Linked DNA regions of Homo sapiens: region 2 is linked to region 1. The links are contacts of gene promoters, found by promoter capture Hi-C in blood cells and fetal thymus (Javierre and others, 2016). All regions are on one chromosome and are shown on one strand. The core of a region is centred on a gene start or on the middle of the fragment in contact, and the rest is flanking DNA. Distances in the headings are between cores, read along the strand shown. Region 1 holds the start of HERC1 (HECT and RLD domain containing E3 ubiquitin protein ligase family member 1). Region 2 overlaps DAPK2 (death associated protein kinase 2).

Region 1 (6,507 bases), core at 2,878-5,377:
ATATTTTGGAAATGCCTCTTAGGCTCTGATCTGCAATATTATCTGGATCAAAAGAGTGGCTGAAGGGAACTATTGGGGACCAAGTACGTGAGGTGGAATGAATTCTTTTTCTGGTGTTTAAACACAAGCTGTAAGAACAAAATGTTTCTAATTAAGATACCACTAATTTTTCTCTCCATTAATTCCATCTTTATTCAAAGCTAAGGGTGTATATAATGACTCCACATCAAAGACTCTTTTCTAATGGTTTAGGAGATACAATTTTTATTAGAACCAAGGAGAATTCACAGCCCACAACAGAACAATTTGTTGAAGTTATTTTGGAGTTGATTTAGGAATCGCTCTTCATGAAATGTGATGAATCTTCATTATGGATGCTTTTTTTTTTTTGAGACAGAATCTCACTCTGTCACCCAGGCTGGAGTTCAGTGGTGCGATTTCCGCTCACTGCAACCTCTGCTTCCTGGGTTCAAGCAATTCTCCCTGCCTCAGACTCCTGAGTAGCTGGGATTACAGGTGCCCGCCACCAAGCCTGGCTAATTTTTGTATTTTTTAAATAGAGACGGGGTTTTGCCATGTTGGCCAGACTGGTCTTGAACTCCTGACCTCAGGTAATCTGCCCACCTCAGCCTCTCAAATTGCTGGGATTACAGGCGTGAGCCACCGTGCCTGGCCCATTATATATGTTTTCTAAACCTCCTCCAAAAAGGCTTTCAGCTCTTTTTGCACTTCTTCTGGTTTGCTTGCTCCCTCCCACTATACCTTTATCACTTGCACTCTCCTCATGTGATATTATATCGATCTATTTTCTTCCCTCTCTCCTCCCATTAGACCATAAGCTCCTTGAGGGCAGGTGTTTAAGCTTGTTCAATAGTATATTTAGTGCCTTGCACAGTGCCTGACTTATGATAGGCATTCCACAAAGACCTGTTAAATGAATGAATGAATAATCATACCTCACATTTAAATAGTGCTACAAATATGGTTACAAAGTACTTTCTTATGTTATTTGACTCCCATGATACTCTCCGGCAGGCAGTGGGTTTTATTATTACCCCTATTTACAGATGTGAGACTAGGCTCAGAAAGACTGTGTAATGGCAGGGCAACTAGGCTGCAATTTCTGGAGCTACCAGAACTCATGTCCATGGATTCCTGCTCTGGAGCTCTTTTCTGTTTTCAGAGTGATATATTTCCTGAGCCAAGTGCCAAGGGCAACACAAACTTACTCCCAGTGTCTGTTTACCCCTGCTGCTCTGCCTCCACACTTTACTGCTCTGCTGGATTTCTTCACTTCAAACTTAGCCCTGATTTTTATCTAGGAGTTGCACATTTCCTAAATGCAGATGAAAGATGAAAAATATATATTCTACTGTTGATTCTCCAGTTCCTTTGCCTGGGACCTCCCAGCTGTGGTGTGGTGCTGTGAAGTATGAGGCATGAAGTGGGGGTGACATACGTGAGGGGAGGAAGATGTGGCTGACTGGTATGGCCAGGGTATGCTGCTCAGAGGGCTATCAGACCAAGGGCTTGTGATGCTTAGGACTTGGCTGTGGCTCTGAGATCCCTCCATCCACTCTTCCCATCTCCAACATTTTTCTTTAGGGAAATCTGAATAAAATGAACTGGTAGAGTTGGGAGGTTAATGCTGACAACAAGGTTCCAGGATATGCTGATTTGAGTATGAAACAGTGTTTTAAGCATGGTGCGGTGGCTCACGCCTGTAATCCCAGCACTTTGGGAGGCCGAGGCAGGCAGATCATTTGAGGTCAGGAGTTCGAGAGCAGCCTGGGCAACATGGTGAAACCCTGTCTCTACTAAAATATAAAAAAATTAGCCGGGCATGGTGCAGCACACCTGTAATCCCAGCTACTAGGAAGACTGAGGCAGGAGGATCGCTTGAACCCGGGAGACAGAGGTTGAAGTGAGCCAAGATCACGCCACTGCACTCTAGCCTAAGCAGCAGAGTGAGACTCCACCTCAAAAAGAAAAAAGAAAGAAAGAAAAAAACAGTGTTTTGGGAAAGAGTGGTGTGGTCAAGGTGAGGGTGGCTAGTAGTCAGGGCTCACTTGCTGACACTAACAGTATTTGCTAATTGTATGCAACTGAACACAGTTGTATTCAATTCTCTTTTACACACAGCTCTGAGGGTGGAAGCTAAGGAGATGGTAAAAGAGGGAGTCTCTTGATTGGTCTTTAAAGTAAGCAGTCCTTTTCTTGAAATAGAATGGGCAAAACCAGGCTGGGCACGGTGGCTCACCCCTGTAATCCCAGCACTTTGGGAGGCCAAGGCGGTCGGATCACAAGGTCAGGAGTTCGAGACCAGCCTGGCCAATATGGTGGAACCCCATCTCTACTAAAAATACAAAAATTAGCCAGGCATGGTGGCACACACCTGTAATCCCACCTACTTGGGAGGCTGAGGCAGGAGAATCGCTTAAACCTGGGAGGCGGAGGTTGCAGTGAGCCAAGATGGTGCCATTGCACTCTAGCCTGGGCAACAAGAGCAAAACTCCATCTCAAAAAAAAGAAAAAGAAAAAGTGGGCAAAACCAGTACAATTTTACAAATTCAAGAAAGACAGAATATCATATTTGTGAGTGACGTAGATGACATCAACAAGTTAAAAGGAGGAGCTTTTGCTTGTTGTTTTTGAGTATGCTTCACACACAATACCCAGATCATAAAGCACTAGCAACAATGACATCACTCCTCATGTAGCTACTCCCTTACATCATTTACCAGAAATACACATTTTATACATAGAAACTTAAAAGCTACACACCTAAGACCCATCATTTAATGAGTACTTAATATGTGCCGTATGTGAGCTTTACATATATTTTACTCCTCAGAGGAACCTTGTGATAACAAGAACTGGCATTATAAATTGACACATAAGGAACTGAGGTTCAGAGAGGTCAAGCAACTTGCCCAAGGTCACACACCTGGGGTAAGTGGGATTCCAGAATTCCCACCAGTGTCTGACAGTGAAGCACATGGCTCCTAACTCTTGGACTAAACTGCCTCATGTGACACACAAACATGTATCTAATTTAACCATGGGAAAGCACTCCCTCGTCTGTCTATACCGTAATTTCTTACATTAGTGACACATTCATGGCTTGTATGTTTGTGTGCTTCTCCTACGCCTCCAATTGGATTGCAAACTTCTGGAACGCAGAGGCCAACTCTATTTTTTGTCCCCAAGTCATCGGTCAGTTTAATTGATGCTCGTTAGAATATCTGGAAGGAAAGACACCATGAAGGTGGCTGGAAAGGAGTAAAACCAGGTACAGAAGGAGGAAGATGGAGATGGGGTATTCACTCAACAATTTAATGTCCACTTGGACCTATGTTAGGCGCTGGAGATATGGTGAGGACTGAGCCAGTCTGTGTCCTTCCCCTCATGGGGTTTCACGTGGAGGTCGAGGTCATGATCAAGGATGTAAGTCACCCAAAGGACACTACTGTGTTCCCAAGCAGAAAAGAAAACCGAGGAGCCAGGCCCTGGCATCTGCAGGGTTCTGGCAGTCCCATAAGGCGCAAAGACATGAACAAGGTGGAAGAGTAGGTCAAGTGAAACGCTTTTATGTGATTGAACTTAGCCGGCCGGAGGGCCGGGGCCGCTGCGATGAGAGATAAAGAGCGTGGGGCGCCGGGTGCGAGGCGGAGATAAAGGGGTGAGGCCCTGGCCCTGCCGCCGGCCGTAACACGTGTCCCTTCGCCTGGCGGCGGGGTCTTCCCTGCCCACCACGAGGAAAAGGGGGCGCACTGCATGGCCCCCCACTCCTCACCACCCTTTGTGAAACGCCCCCAATTGTGCTTCATCTGTGGAGTCAGGTCCCCGCAGGCGGTCGGGGCTGCCCGGATTCCGCGACGGCTGAAGGGTGAGGGCCGCGCGGTAGCAAAGTGTCCCCAGCACCTAGCTTGGCTCCCCTCGCTCCCAAATCCCTTTCCCCTTTTCGCTCAACCCCCAACTCCACCTCAGCCGCCTTCCTCTCGGTTCCCCTTTCACCTCCCGCGCTGGGCCTGTTGGGCGGGGCGAGGGCTCCCGGCTGCGCGAGAGTTCCGCCCAAATCTCGTGAGACTCGCCTGACGCCGCCGCTGCTGCCGCCGCCTCTTACGTCTTTCCCTTTGACAAGTCGCTGCTGCTGCAGCAAAAATAAAGGACGCGACCGCCGCAGCCTCTGCGGAGCCGGGCTCGGGTCGCCGGAGCCGCGCCCCACCCCGCCAGCTCCAGAGCCACGTACGGTAACGCATCATCTACCGTCCTCCTGGTCCTGTGTGTGTGTGTGTGTGTGTGTGTGTGTGTGTGTGTGCGCGCGCGCGTGTGTGCTTTGCCGGCCGCGCAGGGCCGGCCGGGGCCGTTTCGGGACTGCAGCCGAGCGGGGCTGCTGGGGTCCCGGGTGGGCGGCAGGCGAGCTGGGGGAGCCCTCCTGGCGCGCCGCGGATCCCCCGGGTCCCCGGCTCTAGAGGCCTCCTGCCGCCCGGGCGCCTCGGAGCAGCGTAGAAGCCGAGGCGCCCGCGGAGAGGGCCGAGAGACCCGCCCCTCCAGCGGCTTACAACGTCTGTGCCCCGGCCCCGCTGTGGTCGCGTCTCTTTCTGCTTCATTCCTTTATCTGCTGACCAGCTCCTCTGCCCCGGCTGGGGCTCGGTCCGCGGGCGGCGGCCGACTCCCTCTCAGGGTCCGGGGAGTGCCGCGACCCCGGTGTCCCCAGGCGCCGGCCGCCTTTAGCGGGGTGGAGGCTGGGACGACGTGTCTTCCTCCTCTCCTCTGCCTTTGGGTGAGGGCAGCTCATCATCTGCTAAACCTTTCTCCAAATCTCCCGCCCCAATAAAACAACAAATTATAAAGCCTTTGCAACCGGGAGGCGAGGCGGGGCGCATTGTTTAGTCTTAAGCGTGAGATGAGGATGATGATGGTGATGACAGGAGCTACCCCGGGGAACATGGTGAAATCTGTTCTGTGATGGGTGGCAGGTTACTGGGAGACACGAGGAGGACAGGAGCTTGTACCACCTCTCCCAGGAGGTTATGTAAAAGACATGTTATCTTAGAGAGCTGTGAAACACAGGGACAGATTTGTCTTAGTTTAAGAAATGTCTATAATACTTAGAATATAGAGATAATTAAATGATGGGAATAACAAATCTGAACAAACTAACCCATCTTTGTAATTCCATCTCCAGAGGTGGCATTTCATGGTTAACATTTTATTGTATTTCCTAACAGACACATTTTTTTTTATCCTTGCTTGGGACTTCCTCATTCTATATTTGTTCCAAAAATGATTTATTTTATTTGAATCAGTTCTCTGGCCTGCTTGATTAAAACTGGCTGCTAGTTCATTATCACTGGCTGAACTCTGCCATCACTATCTTTTTCACTGGGCCCTTTTCCAAAATGATTGTTAGCTAAGTGGTTTGAAAAATCAAACGTTAAAACATTGTCTGTTTGGGTCTAGTACCTATGTATATATTATATTTTTACAATTCTGTTAGTGGTGGTTGCTCAAAATGGGGCAGTATTTGTAGAAGGGAAAGAAACTATGATTATTCATAGTGGGAAGAAACCTATTTACCTCAGGTTTTATGAAATTGATTTCTACTGGATATTTTTAGACCAAAATTGTTCTGTGACATTGTTTCATAGTGCCTGTTGTGATTAGTGTGGGATGAGTATGTCTCTTTGATATATGTGTTTCCATAGCCTGCGTTTATACAAGCAAAATTGAATGTCCTAGGTGCCTGTCTTATGCATAAATGTACGTATATATGTATAGAGACACACACACACACACACGTATTCTGCACCTATACACATTTATATATCTTGGAAGTGAGTTAAGATGTATTGCTATATTATTTGAGAAAAGATAGCATTAGGAAGGGCAAAGAACAGTCATAATATTTCCCCCAAATCACATGACAAGGTTGTATGGCAGAATGAGATATCTAGGGAGGTTGGAAATCTGGAGCCTTTTAAAAATAGGATAGATTGTCATCTGGGGTTGTTGTTATTGGAATGGATTAAATGGCCTATTAAGGCCTCTTGTAATTCTAAACTTTTATGAATTTTGCGTTCCCTAAGGTTCTTATCATTTTGCTTCTTAAATTTCCAGTCATGCTGTTTGCATGTGACACATCCATTCATTTGCTGGTCATGTATTCCATTTCCAATGCAGGCACCCTGATGTTGCATGGAAGAGAAAGCAAATGTAAATGCGTCACTTAATCTGCTTATTAATATAAACATCTCTTGAAAATCTCAATTTAAAGAAATTTTGGAGAATGTGTTGGTGATTGGACTGGATTGGGTTAGTAGAGGGTGCAAATAATAAATAGTAATAACAATTCCAACGTTCCAAGCATGTTTTCCCCCAAAAAAGTCATACTGAATACTCCCTAATATTTGAAATAGAAAAAAAAGGGGGCTGGGTATATTGAAGGAGCTGACCTTTTAAAATTTTTAAAATTCAGATTTTCAGATCTTAAAATGATGATAA
Region 2 (6,808 bases), core at 321-2,820, 150 kb before region 1:
CAGTGACACTGATCTTGACACAGCCCACTTGTCCTCCCAGGTGCTGAGTGAGTGAGGAGCTGAGTCCTCTGCCTGGGAAGAGGGGTGTGTTCCTGACAGAATTGCAGGAGAGTGTGCTGGCAGAAGCGGGGTGTTTTCTGTATCTTGAGGATTTACTGTCCCTCACGAAACCATCCTACGTGACTTTTGCAAGCCAGTCTCAGGCACAGAGTTCCCACCCACCCACACCTCATGCTCTTCTGCAAGGCTGGATGGTAAAGTCCTATCTCAGACATTACCTCATGATTTCCCAAACAACCCTGGGAAGTGGGCAGGGCAGGTATTATCATCCCCATGTGACAAAGAAGGAAACTGAGGCCTGGGGAGTTGAACAGGCTGCCCAGGGTCCTGGCTCGTTAGTGGTAGGGCTCTGACTAGACTCCCAGTCTCCTGACACCAGCCCAGAGTTAGGAATTTGGAGAGTGAAGAGAAAGGGCTTCATTCCTGTTTAGAGTTGTCCCAGGCTCTTTGGAGCTGTCTGACAGGAAGCTTTCTAAGATGAGACCTGGGATGGCAGATGGAGAAACATGAACTGAAAAGGCAGCTCCCTGTCAAGCCCATGAAACTTTGATAGCAGATTAGGACGAGGAATCGGGCCTCCTACCAGCCCCGTGCTGCAGTAGACCATGCATAGGTATTGATTGTTGCTATGGGGGGCAGAGATACTGGAATATGTGTGCTTTGCATATGTATACCAGATTCCAGTATTCCCATCATTTTTGATTTAGTGTTAGCAATGACTTTCATTAGAGGTTGAATTGCTCCCTTCTGCTCCCTCCCTGGATGACATTCTGGGTGGCTCTGTCCTAAAGTAGACAGACCCTCGCCTCCCACCCATCATCCCTGTAGCCTAGCTGGCGACTTCTGCACTGTGGGACCTCAACTTCTGGCTGCAGAGCCTTCTGTGTGCAGAAAAAGGCCTGTTGCTGTCACCTGCCCTTGGGTTGGCTGGGCCCTCTGATGGGCATACTAGAGCCACCTCAGGTTCTGCTTTTGTGCATCTGCTGAGTACAGTGGCCAGGGAGTGCCTGACTGCAAATTTTCACTCCTGTTATCCTCCGAAAGCTAGAGTAATCTTCTGCCTTGATTTGCATATTCATAACACAGCAGTTAGACTGGTGAACCCCTCAAGCAAAAATCATGCTGATGGGAGAGACAACCCCTCCCCTCTGATTCCCTTTCTTTACTCCTTTCCTGAAATGATCAGATCAGAGAACTATGGGGAAGTGTAATACTGAAAATGAGGAACTAGTATGAGTAACAGTGGTATAGTTTCTTCATTTGTGAAATGGAGATAATCAGAAAGCTGTTGTAAGTCAGCCCTGGCTGCATGTCAGTTACCCAGCGGGCTTTTAAATAGCCCCATCTTCAGGCCCAGACCCAGGAGATCAGAATCTCTCAGGGTGAGACTTAAACACTAGGAGTTTTAAAATTCCCCAGGCAATATCAATGTGTGGCCTGGGTTGAGAACCACTGCTCTAGGATTTAAAGAGTTGGCTACTTGCTCGGAATAGAGCTATTTTCACATCTGGCTGTGCGTGGGAATCATTGGCGGGGTAGGGTGGTGCTTTTAAAATTAAACTGAAGCTGGGTGGTGTGGCAGGCACCTGTGGTCCCAGCTACTCGGGAGGCTGAGGTTGGGAGGATTGCTTGAGCCCAGGAGTTTGAGGCTGCAGTGAGTTATGATCACACCACTGCCCTCCAGCCGGGGCAGCAGAGCCAGACCCCATCTCTAAAAATAAATAAAATTAAACCAATTCCTTGGTTTCACATTCCAGACCATTTGAATCAGTGACTTATGTCTCTGGATGTCTCTTGCTCAGCCTTCACATGAACCACTTTTGAGTACCACGGGCCAACATTACAAATATTTCCAGTCTTCACAATTCTCTAGCAGGGAACCCTGATTCCCATTTGACAGATGAGCAAATCTATGTTCAGAGCAGGTGAAAGCATAAGTCTCTGAGGCCAGGCCTGTCTGATCTTGAAGCCTGGGGGCTGGGTCTGGTGGAGGGTGTTCTCTGCTCTTCTGGAAACAGCCCAAGGAGTGGGGGACACCAGCCAGCAGCCTTGGCTCCCTCTGAGGCTCCCCTCTACAGGTTGAGCAGAGGGCTGTGCCTGAGTGAAGACAGGTGAGACGAGTGGTGGTGTGTGGTATTTGGCGCCATCGTAGTCACCCACTCTCAAAATACCTCCTTTTGGGGAGGGAAAGATGCCTGTGCAGTGGGCCTGCCCCGGTCACCACTCATTGCCACAGCTGTCTCGCAAAGAGAAAACTCAGGCAGGAAAAGCAAACACTCATTTGCTTTTTGAGAGTTTGAGGAATTTTTCAGGCATGTGATATAGAAAAAAAATGCCACTGTTTCCCTCATAAGAGGAAGGGGAAACAACGTCAACATGGCCTGAAATGTTTAGCTCTAGTTTACAAAAGCCCTTCTGCCGTTTCACAAGTCCTAAGGCTGTCAACACAGTGCAGGGCTGGGAGCTGGGGGATTTGGATGCCAAGCCAAGCCCTGCGCCACTGCCTATGTGCTCTGTAAACCTAAGTGTATCCCTTACCACCCTTAAGCTTTGCTTTCCCCACAGGTCAAGTAGGAACTCAGGGCTTCTGTGACAAGGTCACAGGGACTCTGAAATGCCAGGCCCTGCCAGCGGCTGCTTGAGGTGTCGGAGAGGAGAGGCGTGTGGCTGCCTTGACACTGAGACTCAGAGCCACCCGGGCCTGGAAGCTCGGTCAAGTGTTTGTTGGCACCTACCAAGGCACCCGCTGTCCTCGAGGCCCAGAGTGGCTCCAAGAGACCATATGTGTTAGAGTTCACACTGAATGTGTTCACTCTGGCTCTGGGAGGCCTGGCTCCACTCCACCTGCGTCAGCCCTTAGTGTGTGCACAGCTCAGAGCCAATATTTGGAACTGAAATAGCTAAAAATTTAGAGTCAGTGGACGATGTAAGATAAATTTGGCTCCACAAAGCCTTCTCTGCCCAGTCCAGCCCCCAGGATCTTCTCTTTCCCTAGAGCTCCATCTGTACCTGTTGTCTGTGCCTTTGGTCCCTGCCCCGTAGTGCCTAGCACAGATCCTGGCACAGACTGGATGCCCAGACAGTGTTGATTGAATGGAGATTAAGGCAATGGAGAGATGCATGAGTTTGTGTTTGGGAACGTCTCTGAAGTGGCTGCCATAGAATGCTACCTAAGTGTTGGCCTATGTATCTGTTGCTTGCTGAACTTGACTTTGTTGTTGTTATTGCCACTCCGGGTATTTTGAAGACTGTCTCACTGAGGATGATGCTAATGATGGAGTGGTTCAGATGCAGTGCTATTTTGCTATTTTCTGCATTTGGGGCAAATATCCCAGGCATTTCCCTGTATGTAGCTTTTAACCCAGAGCCACTAAGAGTGTACCTCTTAAGTCTGGAGTCTGCTGGCCCCTTATTGAGCCATTAAGCTGAACCAGAAAACTTTCTGAGTTACTCAAGCAGTGGGTATTTTGGGTGGCAAGAAAACATGGGGCAATGATGGCAAATGGCAGTAAGGGGACGGGAGGACCCCCGGGCAAGATGGTCACTGGGAAGTCTCTGAGGACTTAGATCTGCTCCTGCTGGTCACTGAACTGAGGTGCAGAAGCAGGTGGTTGGTGCCCTTCCCTGTGGGGAGGGCCCCTGGAGCACTCAGGGAAGCTGGCTCAGGGCTGCCTGCCACTCTGCCATGGACTCCATTTCATGCTTGCTGTCTCTGTCCCTGGAGTAATGGGTTTCTGAGCCCAGCCCTGGGTACTAGTGCCTGAAGGGGAATAATAATGGTCTAGACTGCTCTAACTATCTCAGAGGCTTTGTGGACAGCCGGTTGGGTATCTGACTTTGAGGCTTGGCTTTGCCATTAACTCTGCGATGACCTCAGGCGAGTCACATGACCTATCCTTATGCCTCAGTTTCCTAATTGTACAACTCTCTGTTTATACCAAGTCCTCTGACTGTGATGCTCCCCCACTATGATGATTAACCTTGTTAGGCTGCCTCCTCTCCAAACTCTACCCAAACCTGGATCCCCACCAGCCCAGTCTGCTTATGGACATTGTGATTTCATCTGGTGGGTCCTAGACTTGGGTTCTAGCTGAGATTTTGCAATGACAAGGCTATGTCATCCTGATCAATAACCTTTCTGGGCCTCAGTGCTCACCTCTGTACACTGGGACTAAGAATACTAACATTCATTCCTCATAGAAGGAATGGACAGAAGGGAAGCCCAGTCCCTGCCCCATCTCATCCACAGGTTGTCATCAGGTGGGGATGCAGACTGGTGGCATGATTTGTCCTGTCCTGGCAGAATCACTCTGAATTTGTGTGACCTGGTAGCTGACAGTGGGGTCATTTCCCCAATGACCACAGTGATGACCTAATCTTGTGGGTCTGTGTCCCCACAGTGGCCAGTTTGCCATCGTGAAGAAGTGCCGGGAGAAGAGCACGGGGCTTGAGTATGCAGCCAAGTTCATCAAGAAGCGGCAGAGCCGGGCGAGCCGGCGCGGTGTGAGCCGGGAGGAGATCGAGCGGGAGGTGAGCATCCTGCGGCAGGTGCTGCACCACAATGTCATCACGCTGCACGACGTCTATGAGAACCGCACCGACGTGGTGCTCATCCTTGAGCTGTGAGTGGGGTCCCCAGGACCCACAGGGTTGGGGGGCAGCAGGGGCAGGCAGAGCAGTGGAAACTCCAGCCACAGGCCCCAGGGGGCAGCAGCAACCAGGCCTAAGCTCAGCCCAGAGGAGGTGAAGTCAGTGGTGGGCAGATCCCCTCTGTCTCAGTTACCCCCTTCCTCCTTACCCGCTTCCTCCTCCTGAAACTGAGCCAAAGGAGGGGCAAGCTTGCTGAATAGCAGGGGCAGAGGGCAATGGCCTAAGTCTGGCTTTCACTGGATCCTGGAGATCAAAGGGAAGAAATGACTGCACTGGGGTCTTTTCCTGGCTGGAGAAGCATGTGGGAGGGTGAGTGGGACAGATGGTGGGGTGGGGCCAGGGGAGGCTGTCAGCGAGGGCTGTGTACTATGAGGAGGGGAAGTACAAACATCTCTGGGCTCTGCGAAGCCCTTCTCCAGCCCTTTCCTGGGGAAAGTCCACTGCATTTGTGCTGTGAATGACACCTTTATTGTTATAATAATAGCTATTATTTAGAGAGTCCTACTGTAAGCCAAGAATTTGCTAGGCGCTTTCTATCTGTCGTCTTGTTCAATCTTTAAAGACTGTGATGAGGGAAATGTCTTACTAGTGCAGACAGGTTATTTTGTATTCATTGTGCAAGCCAAGTACTTCTGTACCTTATTTAATCCTCATAACAACGCTGTCACACAGACACTCTTATTATCCCCATTTTACAGACAAGAACACTGAGAGGCCAGGACACTTACAGGAGCCTATAGCCAGGAAGTGGCAGGACCAGGACTTGAGTCCACACGGCCTGTGCAGACAGCTATGAGTGTGAGGCGGGTTGGCCTTATGCTGGCTTAGCAGAGGAAGACCTCACAGTTCATGATGGAATTTGGATAGATGACCTCAATACTCTAGGGTTTGGCTAGCCACGCTGGTATCGTCCTGGGCAGGTGGGGCTCTGATAAACAATAGAGTTTGAGTTGGGTTGTGGACAAGTTACAGTGGCTGTGTCCAGTCAAGCAGCAAGGACTATATAAAGAATGTTCTGGCCTGGTGCAGTGGCTCATGCCTGTAATCCTAGCACTTTGGGAGGCCAAGGCGGGCAGATCACAAGGTCGGAGTTTGAGACCAGCCTGGCTAACATGGTGAAACCCCATCTCTACTGAAAATACAAAAATTAGCCGGGTGTGGTGGCAGGTGTCTGTAATCCCAGCTACTCGGGAGGCTGAAGCAGTAGAATTGCTTGAACCCGGGAGGCGGAGGTTGCAGTAAGCCGAGATTGCATCACTGCACTCCAGCCTGGGTGACAGCAAGACTCCATCTCGGAAAAAAAAAAAAAAAAAAAAAGAATATTCTGAGGCTCATAAGCATGTATACACCTGCCTGGTAGCGGGAGTGATAGAATCTCTCAGGAATCCCTGATTTTGTGCCCTTGGGCAAGTCACCTCAATTCCCTGAGCTTTAGTTCTCATCTGTAAAGCAGGCAGCCATCCTTAACCTGCCTACAGACTCGGTGGACCACCTGACATTTGAGATCATTCTAATTTGAGAACTATGCTCTGGTATTGGCAGGATATAGATTTAAGTAGCAGATGGACATTTGCATACTCTTGCATTTGATTCTTAAATTATCCATCTCGGTGTTTAAATGTATAGAATTGCCTGTGCTCTTCCCTTCGCTAGCTCCCAGTGTCCTCCATGTTTCTCCCACGGGCCTCCCAGCTGGTTGGACTACTGGATGCCTGCCCTGCGTGACCCAGAGAGAAGCTGAGGGTCAGCAGTCGGCATCCTGATTCCCAGCAGAGAGTGACAAGTGCACCTTTCTGGAAAGGCCGAGCCACTTCTTAAAAAGTTTATTATGGGGAGGAAAAAAAAAAAACTAAGCAGGAATGGACAAGAAATTACATTTATAATCCTACAACCCAAACACAGCTATTTATGTTTTTCTGTGGTTCCTCTCAATCTTTATCTATTTGTATACAATCATTGTACTTGTATAATTTCCTGCTCTACTTTTTTCCCCAATTAACATAATTCTAAAAATTGGCTTTTCTCTTTTAACTGACTATATGTTTCACTGAATTGCATACCAGTATTTCCCTTGTCTTAGTCCATTTTCTATTGCTTA

The links. The method cuts DNA at HindIII sites, captures the fragments that hold promoters and counts their contacts. A CHiCAGO score of 5 or more calls a contact.
Region 2: a contact is called between a fragment that was not itself captured here and the fragment with the promoter of HERC1 in region 1, in 5 of 17 cell types (naive B cells, megakaryocytes, erythroblasts and 2 more). The highest score is 6.4, in naive B cells.

The regions. Positions count from the first base shown.
Region 1 is chr15:63,831,568-63,838,074 of GRCh38, reverse strand. HERC1 (HECT and RLD domain containing E3 ubiquitin protein ligase family member 1) reads left to right here and starts at 4,127. Exons shown (of 78, transcript NM_003922.4): 1 at 4,127-4,248. RefSeq lists enhancers at 3,939-4,068, 3,242-4,105, 4,106-4,971 and a silencer at 4,309-4,738. The HindIII fragment of the contact is 17,710 bases long and covers 865-6,507 here.
Region 2 is chr15:63,981,407-63,988,214 of GRCh38, reverse strand. It overlaps DAPK2 (death associated protein kinase 2), which reads left to right. Exons shown (of 12, transcript NM_014326.5): 3 at 4,461-4,682. Among named protein-coding and RNA genes, the nearest start is that of DAPK2, 62 kb to the left of the region's middle. RefSeq lists an enhancer at 2,274-2,775. The HindIII fragment of the contact is 2,080 bases long and covers 531-2,610 here.